3 separate regions of the Homo sapiens genome follow, and regions 1 and 3 are each linked to region 2. The links are contacts of gene promoters, found by promoter capture Hi-C in blood cells and fetal thymus (Javierre and others, 2016). All regions are on one chromosome and are shown on one strand. Each heading gives the region's core, a stretch centred on a gene start or on the middle of the fragment in contact. The rest is flanking DNA. Distances are from core to core; before and after follow the strand shown.

Region 1 (3,326 bases), core at 88-2,587, 220 kb before region 2:
ACTTCCATATCTAAAGTTACATTTAAATGAATATGCCTGGGGAGAAGGGAAAATAGGAACATGTGTTTCCAGCTCTAGGGCCTAGTTAGGTCACTGGACAAATGGAGTATTGCCTTCTGGTGATGTTTAACTCCATAAAACATCTATGCTTAAACATTTAGTAATGAACATTTAAAGAACTATTTCTAAACATGAGATCACTTTGAAAAGTAACACTTTTTTCTAATTATAAAAATAGCATAATGTTCTTCGTAGAAAACCCAGGAAGTATGAAAAGCTGGGAAATAAAATTAAAATCATCTATAATCCCATCACCCAGAGGCAACCACCATGAGCACTTCGGTATATAACCTTCTAGTAATTTATTCTAGGCATATGTGTGCATCCTGCTTTTTCACTTAATATTTTATCGTGGGTATTTTCTTATGTCATTAATACGCCTAGTAAACCTCATTCTAACCACTGCCTAATATTACTAATGGCTTGAAAATCCTGTTTTTGGATAAACAATATTATTGTATTTACTATGGACCTAACTTATAAGAACAGATGCAAAATGTATCTGATATTTGAAAACTACCCAAGGGATTTTTGGAATTAATGATCTCTCCTGGATCTAACTAACATCAGTATTTTGATTCCAAAATTGATTTTCTTCTGTTCAGATACCTAAAATCACCCATGTTGTGCACCATAAATCACTCACATATTTTGCAAAATACAGTCTTAGGATTGGAAAACCACAACTCCTTAAGAAATATTAGACAGTAAAGTACTCAGTAAATTTCTGTTCTTCCCATATGTAAGCCAGGGCAGGCCCTCCAACCCAGGCTCTGCCTGCTAGAGCAAGTCAATCACTGAGCTTAAAGGAAACACTAAAGTAAGTAAAACAGAGACAAAATTATCCCTAGCACAAAGTTTGGTTTCTGAGTAAATTCATTTTTTTCACTTTTCAAAGTAAGTAAAGTAATAAACTATATTTTTTTCTGAGAAAATTTTCATTCAGAAGCTCCATAAAACAATAATATTATGGGCTTACACCCCTAATATATCAGCATGGCATATGTTTGCTAAGCAAGAGTTCTGAAAATTAACTCATCATACTAATCACAATTCATTTGAAGTACAGGAGATGAAAATTCTATGTAAAAATGTGGAATTTTTATTTAAAAGGAAACTCTGTTTCCAATTATATTTGGTGGTTTGGAGATCCTTTCCTTACCTGCAAGGCAGCTTAGGATCAGAAAGACCTTCCAAAATGCGAACACCATTGTGTGGAGGTTAGTTGAGAGCAGCAGGTGCCAGTAGCTTGCCTGGACTAGGCTGAGTCTCAAATTGGCTTCTTCGATCACACCGAGGTTTGCCTGGCTTATCTGCTGGGCATCGCCAAGCAAACATGCCTCTTTGGGCTTACTTATTGCGTATAGACTTTTTTCAGTACAGATTTGTGTTTCTTTGAAACACTTTTCATGGGGCGTGTTTCCTTGATATATTTGCTACTGTGTTAATAATAAACCCACGCATTTAAATTATTCAAGCTCCTTGTACACAGATTCTCTAAGTCTCATTGTTTAAAATCAATCTTACTAAAACGTTGTACTTGGGCTGGGGGATATGGTTGGAAGAGAGCCTATGCAAATAAAAGCTGACAAGGCTAATTAATTTCAAATATTTCCATGAGTCTTACAGAATTGATTCACTAACCTCCTTTTACAAATTAAGTTAGTAAATTGGTACTATATCGTTTCCTGGGGAGATGGGGCTCACGGGAAGGGCACAGGGGTTATGAAGCTAAAAAGCATTCATTTCTGTGTGAACAAACTCTGGATATGTTACTCTTTTTTGAAACACTGGCAGTTGTCACTACCCTCCACCAAAACTAGCAGTAAAATGATTTACATGCTTTTGTCTGTCGGGTTAGAAACCTTATAGCACGTATTTGCTAACGTAATTTTGCAAAATCAAGTTAGTGAATACATGCTTAAAGACTTTCTTTGGAGAAGTCTGATTTTTTGGAGAATTAAGATACTCAGTAAATGCTATAGGGTTTCCTTAGAAATGGAGGTTCACCAGGAGGGCATGGGAGGCTCCACAGGTAAGGAACTTTCATGGGAACATGAACTTCTAATAGTGTTCCTATTATGCTTAAGTTACCCGGAGAAACCTAAGGACTTTCTCTGGCTCTTCCCATGTGATTTCTAAGTCCTATCATTTCCATCTCCACAGCGACTTTCAGATGTGTTCTTTCTCCAATCTGCTGCTTCCATCTTGGTCCAGGTACTCAGCTTCCCACTTTGGCCTATCATAGCAGCTTCCTAAGTGGTCTCCCTGACTTATTCCACCTTCATCCTGTGTGCCAGCCGCAGGCCAATGTTCCAGCCCTAGTGAAATATTTCCAGTAACACCATAAATGGACTCTTTCATCAAATCCAAAGTCCTTAATATGGATTCCCATTCTTCCAATATCTGATCCTCACCTCATCTGAACTTTAGCCACATTAACTCATGCCCCTGAAAAAGTATGTCAAGATTTATTGCCTCAAAGTGTTCAGTCACATGAAATGTGTACAAATTTCAAGTGATATGTTTTATGTTCCTGTCTTTAATTTACAGGAAATGTTTGACCCCATCTTACTTTAGCCATTCCAATCTCCCACTGCTTCTTAGAAAGCCATTTTGCTTCCATCATGCCTGATTCCTCCTTGCAGCCTATCCTGTCCATGCTCATGTCTGATGCCAAACGTTGGCTCCAGGTGATTTCCATCACTAGAGTTTTCTTCTTCCTCCTCTTACTAGCCAAGTATATTCTTAGCATAGATCAGTCATACTGTCCTATGTGAGAATTTCAATGAACCGACATACCACCCTAGCATAAATTTCCATTTTACTTAAAGCCAATATCCTACAGCTGACCATTGATTATTCTCCAGTAGTTTCGCATTTATTAACTGGTCTACCTTAAATCTAGTCACTGTGAATCCCTCCAGGGTAGGGACCATGTCTTATACAGGCAGTTCCCAACTTTAAAATGAGCGTGTCCCAAGATGTAATGGTAAACTCGTTGACTGCACGCAAGAACTCCTGCAGAAGCAATGTTATAATATGAGTCTCACTGTCAGGCATGTAGCACATAATCTAGCACTGGCTTGAATTCTGCGTACTGGGCCGTATAAGGCAGTGGAGGGTGAGGAGGAACAGCAGGTGACAGAGAAAGAACGTTCCTTTCATTTCCCAAGATATGACTTGTGCACAAATCAACATTTTCCCCCAAATAACTATTGCATGTCTCTGACATCCACCTTCTCTTCTGCCTCCCACCTTCACGG
Region 2 (3,113 bases), core at 210-2,709:
GTAAGCGTTGTGACATAGGAAGGTGAGTGATCCTGAAAACGGGTAGGGGACCGTGGAAGAGAGAAAGTAAAGAGTACAACGACTGCAGGATTTCAATTTCCTGCTCTAAGAAGAAACACCTCTGAAAAATAATGTGCAACACACGAAGTGCTAAGTAACCTAAACCTTATCATCACCAGTAATGTTTCTGTAAATCTACTCCGCCGTTATTTACTTAATTCTTACAAGGCAGGAATGGAAAATCCCCACTCTCCCTGGTTGCGTCGCAGTCTGTCCTGTGGACATATGTAAGTTTTCCCTCTCCCCCACAGAGCTGATTTCACAGCTAGGCCAGAAATAAGGAACCATCCAGACGGAGACTCGAGGATCGCTCCCTGGCAGAAAAGGGATTAAGTTTCACCGGGCCTCCCCGCCGGCAGGGCGTCCGCAGCCACGCCGGCTGCTGCGACAGCACCGCCCGGCAGACGGCCGGCCAAGGGGCGACGCCTGGGCCGAGGAGGCTGCCGGCTGCGGGAGCGTGGGAAGGCGGCCGTGCCCTTTCCCAGACTCGCGCCCAGGCGCCGGGGGATTCGCTCGACTGCCCGCGCCGGGCCCGGCCAGGCTGCGCAGAGGCCTCGGCCGCCCCCGCCCCGCACCCCGGAGTGCAAACTCCGTCCCAGGAGGGCAGTGGCAGGAACCCGGGCCCCAACAGCATGACTGAGAGCCGGAGCTGAGCTGGGGCCCCCGTCGCCGTTTCGAGCCTCGCGGGCCCCATCACCCTGCCTCGCCGAGCCGGAGAGCCCTCGGCCAACGCCGGGCCCCGGCGGCACCTGAAAAGCGGCCGGAGCCGGAGACTAGCCCTGCGAGGGCTACGACGCTCGACCTCCAGGGCCGCGGCGAGGGGGCGCGTTTTACCCATAGCGTTCCCAGGTGCCAGCCATCTCCTCCGCTCGCTCGAGGGCGCTGGGCTCTCGTCTGCCTCCGCAGCGGGTTGGCTCGGGCTCCGGCGCGAGCTCCCGGGCCCCGGTCGCCGCCGCCGCCGCTACCACTGTAGGCCGCCGCCCGCCTTCGCCGCCGCTGCCGCTACCGTCGCCGACGCCGCGCAGCAGCCGGGATCCGCCAGCCCGCGCGCCCCGCAGGGGACAGCACGGCGGCCGCGATGCTACCGCAGCTGGGCCTCCCGAGCTAAACTTAAGAGTTTTCGCCCCTCAGTCCAGGGGCAGCACCATGACACCACGGCAGCACCACACTGTCATTTCCGCCGCCGCAGAGGAAAAAAAAGGCAATCCCTTCCAAAAGGGAGGCGGAGTGGGGGCAAACGGGGCTGGGGCTGACACCCCAAGGGAGCACTGGGAAGGGCCCAAGAAGAAGGGGTGCTCGGCCACCTTCCCAGGCTCACCTTCCGCCGCCCCCGCCACTCCCAGCTCCCCCAGCCCTTCCTCTGGAGGCACGTTTACATGTCTTCTCCCCTGGCAGGAGTGACCGGAGAAACCTGAGCAAGCAAAGGCAGCCGGTGGGTGGGGCTCGGGTTACTACTGTACCTACCAGCTGATTCCAGCAGCCTTTTCTCCAGCGCCCTGTCATCTTGAAGGAAGACACACCGAGAGGGACCCGGACGGGTGTGCGTGTGTGTGTGTATGGTGTGTATGTGCGTGTGTGTGTGTGTGACAGAGCGACAGAGATAGCTAAATGTGTGTGAAATGCAGAAGGAAGGCTATGGCTAAACTCTTCTCCCACTCCCCAATCCCCCTGTCCCCCAACCCCACAAACCCCCAGGTTAGAACAAGAAAGAGGCCTTTGCAACGGGTAATAAGAAGAGAGAGCCGGGTCCACCGCAGAGATCCTCCCTATGAAGCTGCTCTATGCAAAGTTAACTACAGAGTAAAACAAAAATAGTGGAGGAGATAGAAAAGGGCAGACAATTGAAGGAAACCGAACCTCTCTTTCTTTTTACAAAAAAAGAATGGCTGTGTTTTATTGGCCTCGGGCAGAAGTTGTGGAGGTGGATTAAAACCATCAAAAGAAAAAAAAAAGTAGGATTTTTCTTGTACCTTCAAATTGTTGACCAGTAAAACAAGAGGGTCGTTACCACATGGACAATGAGGCAGATGCTAGCTATCCAGCTATTCCAGGTCCCTAATAAGCTAATTGGTCCATTTGGAATCCAGCATCCTCCCATTGGTCTGGAATCAGCCTGTTTGCTGACCTGTCATTGGCTCAGAGACCACCACCCGACTCAAAAGGTGGATGGGAGAGGGAAAGAGCAGGAAGCCCCATAAGAGACTCTGTTTCTAACTTGGGGCAAAAAGGGAGAAGAAGGGGAAAGAAATGAGAAAATGGGAAGACTCACCCCAGCACACACACACACACGCCTCCCATCATTGTGCATAGGAACAAGTCCAGAAAAATTGAGGTATCTCTTGGTATATCCCTTCAGGGAACCAATAGTAATCAGTCAACACTCCTGTTAAACAATGTGCTAGAGAGCACTGAGGTGGAAACCAAGACAAAAGTCACAACCAGGCTCTCCTGATGAAAGTCTGGCCCCTAAGAGAAGTAAAAGTTAGTGAGTCACACTTAAAGCACAGGCAACAAAAGCAAAAATAGGTAAATGGGACCATAAAACTTTCAAACATCTGCACAGGAAAGGACACAATCAACAGAGTGAAAAAGCAACCTACAAAATGATAGAAAATATTTGCAAACCATATATCGGATAATGTGCTAATATCCAGAATGTATAAAGAACTTCTATAGCTCAATTAAAAAAAAAACTCTTAAAAGTGGACAAAAGACTTGAATAGACATTTCTCCAACGAAGATATACAAGTGGCCAACAGGCATATGCAAAGATGATCCACATCACTAATTGTTAGGGAAATGCAAATCAAACCCCAATGAAATATCACTTCACATCCATTAGGATGGTCACACACACACACACACACACACACACACACACACAAAACAAACACACAGGAAAATACGGCAAGGTGTGGTTCACACTTGTAATCCCAGCTACTCAGGAGGGGATGCTGAGGCAAGAGAGTCACTTGAGACCAGCAGTTAGAGATCAGCCTGGGTAACATGAATAGAACGTGTCTCTACAAAAAATAAAATTAGAACAGAAAATA
Region 3 (3,216 bases), core at 190-2,689, 160 kb before region 2:
AAATGTCAAGAATATTTTTTAAAGTACTGTATTCCTATTACCCAAAGATAACCACTGTTAAAGTGTTAGTATATAACTTTCCAGATTTGTGATGTATGCATACATATAGTTAGTTATATGCTCTTTGTAACAAGCGAAATTAGAGAAAAATGTATTTTAAAGTTAAAAACTTTTTTTCTAACCTCCAGTCCAACCCCACTTCCCAGAGATAATTAATGTTGAGTCTGCTATATATCCTCTCTCATTCTGTTCTCCAAGATTATAGAAACATACAAACATATGCAAACACACACATACACACAAATACGGGATCATAGAAAACATTACTCCTACAACTTTACATGCCCTTTTGTCATTGGCCATCATCATAGATCCATAGGTAGAAACAGATTCAGTTACAGTACAATGTCATGTAATACGTAGCAACGCTGGACTCAACCTGAGATTTGTCTGATTTATCTTGTGGGTCTCAGAAAGTCATTCAAGGTTTTCTTGTTTTTGTGTTTGTTTGTTTGAGACAGAGTCTCACTCTGTCACCCAGGCTACAGTGCAGTGGTGCGATCTCGGCTCACTGCAACCTCCGCCTCGTGGGTTCAAGCGATTCTCCTGCCTCAGCCTCCCGAGTAGCTGGGACTACATGCGCGTGCCACCACATCTGGCTAATTTTTTGTAATTTTAGTAGAGACGGGGTTTCACCCTGTTAGCCAGGATGGTCTCGATCTTCTGACCTCGTGATCCGCCCATCTCGGTCTCCCAAAGTACTGGGATTACAGGCATGAGCCACCGCGCCCGGCCGAAGGTTTTAAGAGACATATTCATATCCCTCTGATGGAAGATCTCTGATATTTCATGTTTTGGTAAAAAGGTGTATTTATGCTACTCCTAACTCTCTTTCTCCCACAGTTGCTTCAAGATTCAAGGCGTTTCAGTAGGGGAGGAGTGGGAGAAGGGGTGATGGGAGGAGTGTGGGGAAAGAGGAGCTAAGGGAGGAAAGGCAGGCCAGGATTTGTTAGGGTGTCTGGGATGTTTAGTCCTGAGCAAACAGGGGATAAGCTCCGCTCCTGGCTCCACCCTCTTCCTCCAAGGGCAACTGAGGGGTTGGGGCTGTTTCCTGCTCTAGAATATTCCAGTTGGGGGCGAAACTCCCCTGGCATGGCACAAACCATTATGATGGGGAGGGATAAGTCTTCAACTTGTTCACAAATACTTTTTTTGGTCCTAAGTCCTTCCGGACCACTCCTGTTTCTTTCAGCCTTCAAGGTCTCCCGACCATGTGGCAGGTTCCCTTTTGTCCCAGTGGAATGGCAGAGGCCTTCCTCACTCACTCCCTTTCACCCCTACAGTCTCTGGAAATTGGAACAGTCCCAGAGTAAAATCCTCATGGGTTGGCCCTGAGGCTTCTTTTCCCGCAGAGCCCTAGGAGGGAAAGAGGCCACCCTCTCTTCAGGCGTGTTAAGCAGCGGGGTTGGCCTGTACTTCCTCTGGCCCTGGCTGAAGAGGTGAGGCCTGGTGGGAGATGTCCTAGGGTAGGACAAGCCGGTCAGAGGGTCATTAGGAGGGTCTTGTCAGAGGTGGGAGGGCGGAGAAGACAGATGAGGGGAGGGGCTAAGGAGGAGGAAAGAAACCTATTGGCTGCTCCATCCACACAGGGCTAGTGAAACCGTTAAGCCCCTAGGCGATCATGGCCTTGAGACCTGAGGACCCCAGTAGTGGGTTCCGGCACGGAAACGTGGTGGCCTTCATCATCGAGAAAATGGCCAGGCACACGAAAGGCCCCGAGTTCTACTTCGAGAATATATCCTTATCCTGGGAGGAGGTGGAAGACAAGCTCAGGGCCATCCTGGAGGACAGCGAGGTGCCCAGCGAGGTCAAAGAGGCCTGCACCTGGGGCAGCCTGGCCTTGGGTGTGCGCTTTGCCCACAGGCAGGGGCAGTTACAAAACCGCAGGGTGCAGTGGCTGCAAGGCTTTGCCAAACTGCACAGATCAGCTGCGCTGGTCTTGGCCTCAAACCTGACGGAACTCAAGGAACAGCAGGAGATGGAATGCAATGAGGCGACCTTCCAGTTGCAGCTAACCGAGACCAGCCTTGCGGAGGTGCAGAGAGAGCGGGACATGCTGAGATGGAAGCTCTTCCATGCCGTAAGATCCCCCGAATGGTCCCTGTCCAATGCCTCTGCCCTGCCCCAACCTGTCCGGACCCCCTGCCCTGTCCCCAGAATGTGTTTCAGCTCTGCCTACTTCTCTCCAGGAGCTGGCACCTCCCCAGGGACAGGGCCAGGCTACAGTGTTTCCAGGCCTGGCCACTGCCGGAGGGGATTGGACAGAAGGAGCAGGTGAGCAGGAAAAGGAGGCGGTGGCTGCTGCTGGTGCTGCTGGAGGAAAAGGAGAGGAGAGGTATGCAGAGGCAGGGCCTGCCCCCGCAGAGGTCTTGCAGGGGCTGGGAGGAGGCTTCAGGCAGCCCCTCGGAGCTATTGTAGCAGGCAAATTACACCTTTGCGGGGCAGAGGGAGAAAGATCTCAGGTCAGTACAAACAGCCATGTCTGTCTTCTCTGGGCTTGGGTCCACAGTCTCACTGGAGCCTCTTCCTGTCCAGCTCCCTACCTCATTCACATACTCATACCCATGCCCTTTGTCCGCCTTCTCAGCCATACCCAATATACCCCCTTCACCAGCAAAGGTCACAGAACGGGTTCCAACTCAGATGCCTTTCAACTGGGGGGCCTCTGATGCTAGCCTGTGGTCAGATGTGGAGGCCCAGGGAATAGACCCTCAAGAGCCCCCAAGAGACAGGAGAGACTCCGAACTCCATCAGCAGAGAAGACCTCCAGTATATCGCAGGCCAGGGAACTGGGACTGCCCGTGGTGTAAAGCTGTGAATTTTTCATGGAGGGAAAATTGCTTCCTCTGTGGGAGGCGAATCTGGCTGCAAAAGCCTCAGTAAATTCAGAAATGTAAAATAGAACAGAAATATATCTCAATGGGAAATCAATCTTCAGGGGGAGAGGGGAGAGGTGGGAGGGGGATTGGGTGGAGTGGGGGAAAGGGGATGAGTGGGAAGATTGGACAGTAGGGGGGCGGGGAGGCGGGGTTGTGGGTGGGAGGATGTAGATGACAGGCAGGGAGAGACATGTTTTAATGACTCCATTTGTATTTCAGAGTATTAGTAGTCAACACTCCAGAACTACTGCAGTTTTTATTTGTGTGTGTGTCTCTA

The links. The method cuts DNA at HindIII sites, captures the fragments that hold promoters and counts their contacts. A CHiCAGO score of 5 or more calls a contact.
Region 1: a contact is called between the fragment with the promoter of VSIG1 here and the fragment with the promoter of MID2 in region 2, in 6 of 17 cell types (total CD8 T cells, activated CD4 T cells, total CD4 T cells and 3 more). The highest score is 7.1, in total CD8 T cells.
Region 3: the fragment with the promoter of TEX13B here is called in contact with the fragment with the promoter of MID2 in region 2 in 4 of 17 cell types (endothelial precursors, total CD4 T cells, naive CD8 T cells and 1 more); the score reaches 7.9 in endothelial precursors.

Annotation. Positions count from the first base shown.
Region 1 is chrX:108,043,076-108,046,401 of GRCh38, reverse strand. VSIG1 (V-set and immunoglobulin domain containing 1) reads right to left here and starts at 1,337. Exons shown (of 7, transcript NM_182607.5): 1 at 1,223-1,337. The coding sequence starts at 1,271. The HindIII fragment of the contact is 8,448 bases long and covers 1-3,326 here.
Region 2 is chrX:107,824,212-107,827,324 of GRCh38, reverse strand. It overlaps MID2 (midline 2), which reads right to left and starts at 1,459. Exons shown (of 10, transcript NM_012216.4): 1 at 895-1,459. The coding sequence starts at 898. RefSeq lists silencers at 642-691, 852-1,041. The HindIII fragment of the contact is 8,930 bases long and covers 1-3,113 here.
Region 3 is chrX:107,980,593-107,983,808 of GRCh38, reverse strand. TEX13B (testis expressed 13B) reads left to right here and starts at 1,439. Exons shown (of 3, transcript NM_031273.2): 1 at 1,439-1,499; 2 at 1,650-2,140; 3 at 2,250-2,945. The coding sequence starts at 1,682. The coding sequence ends at 2,729. It also overlaps the pseudogene LOC112267910 and the pseudogene NLRP3P1. The HindIII fragment of the contact is 6,409 bases long and covers 1-3,216 here.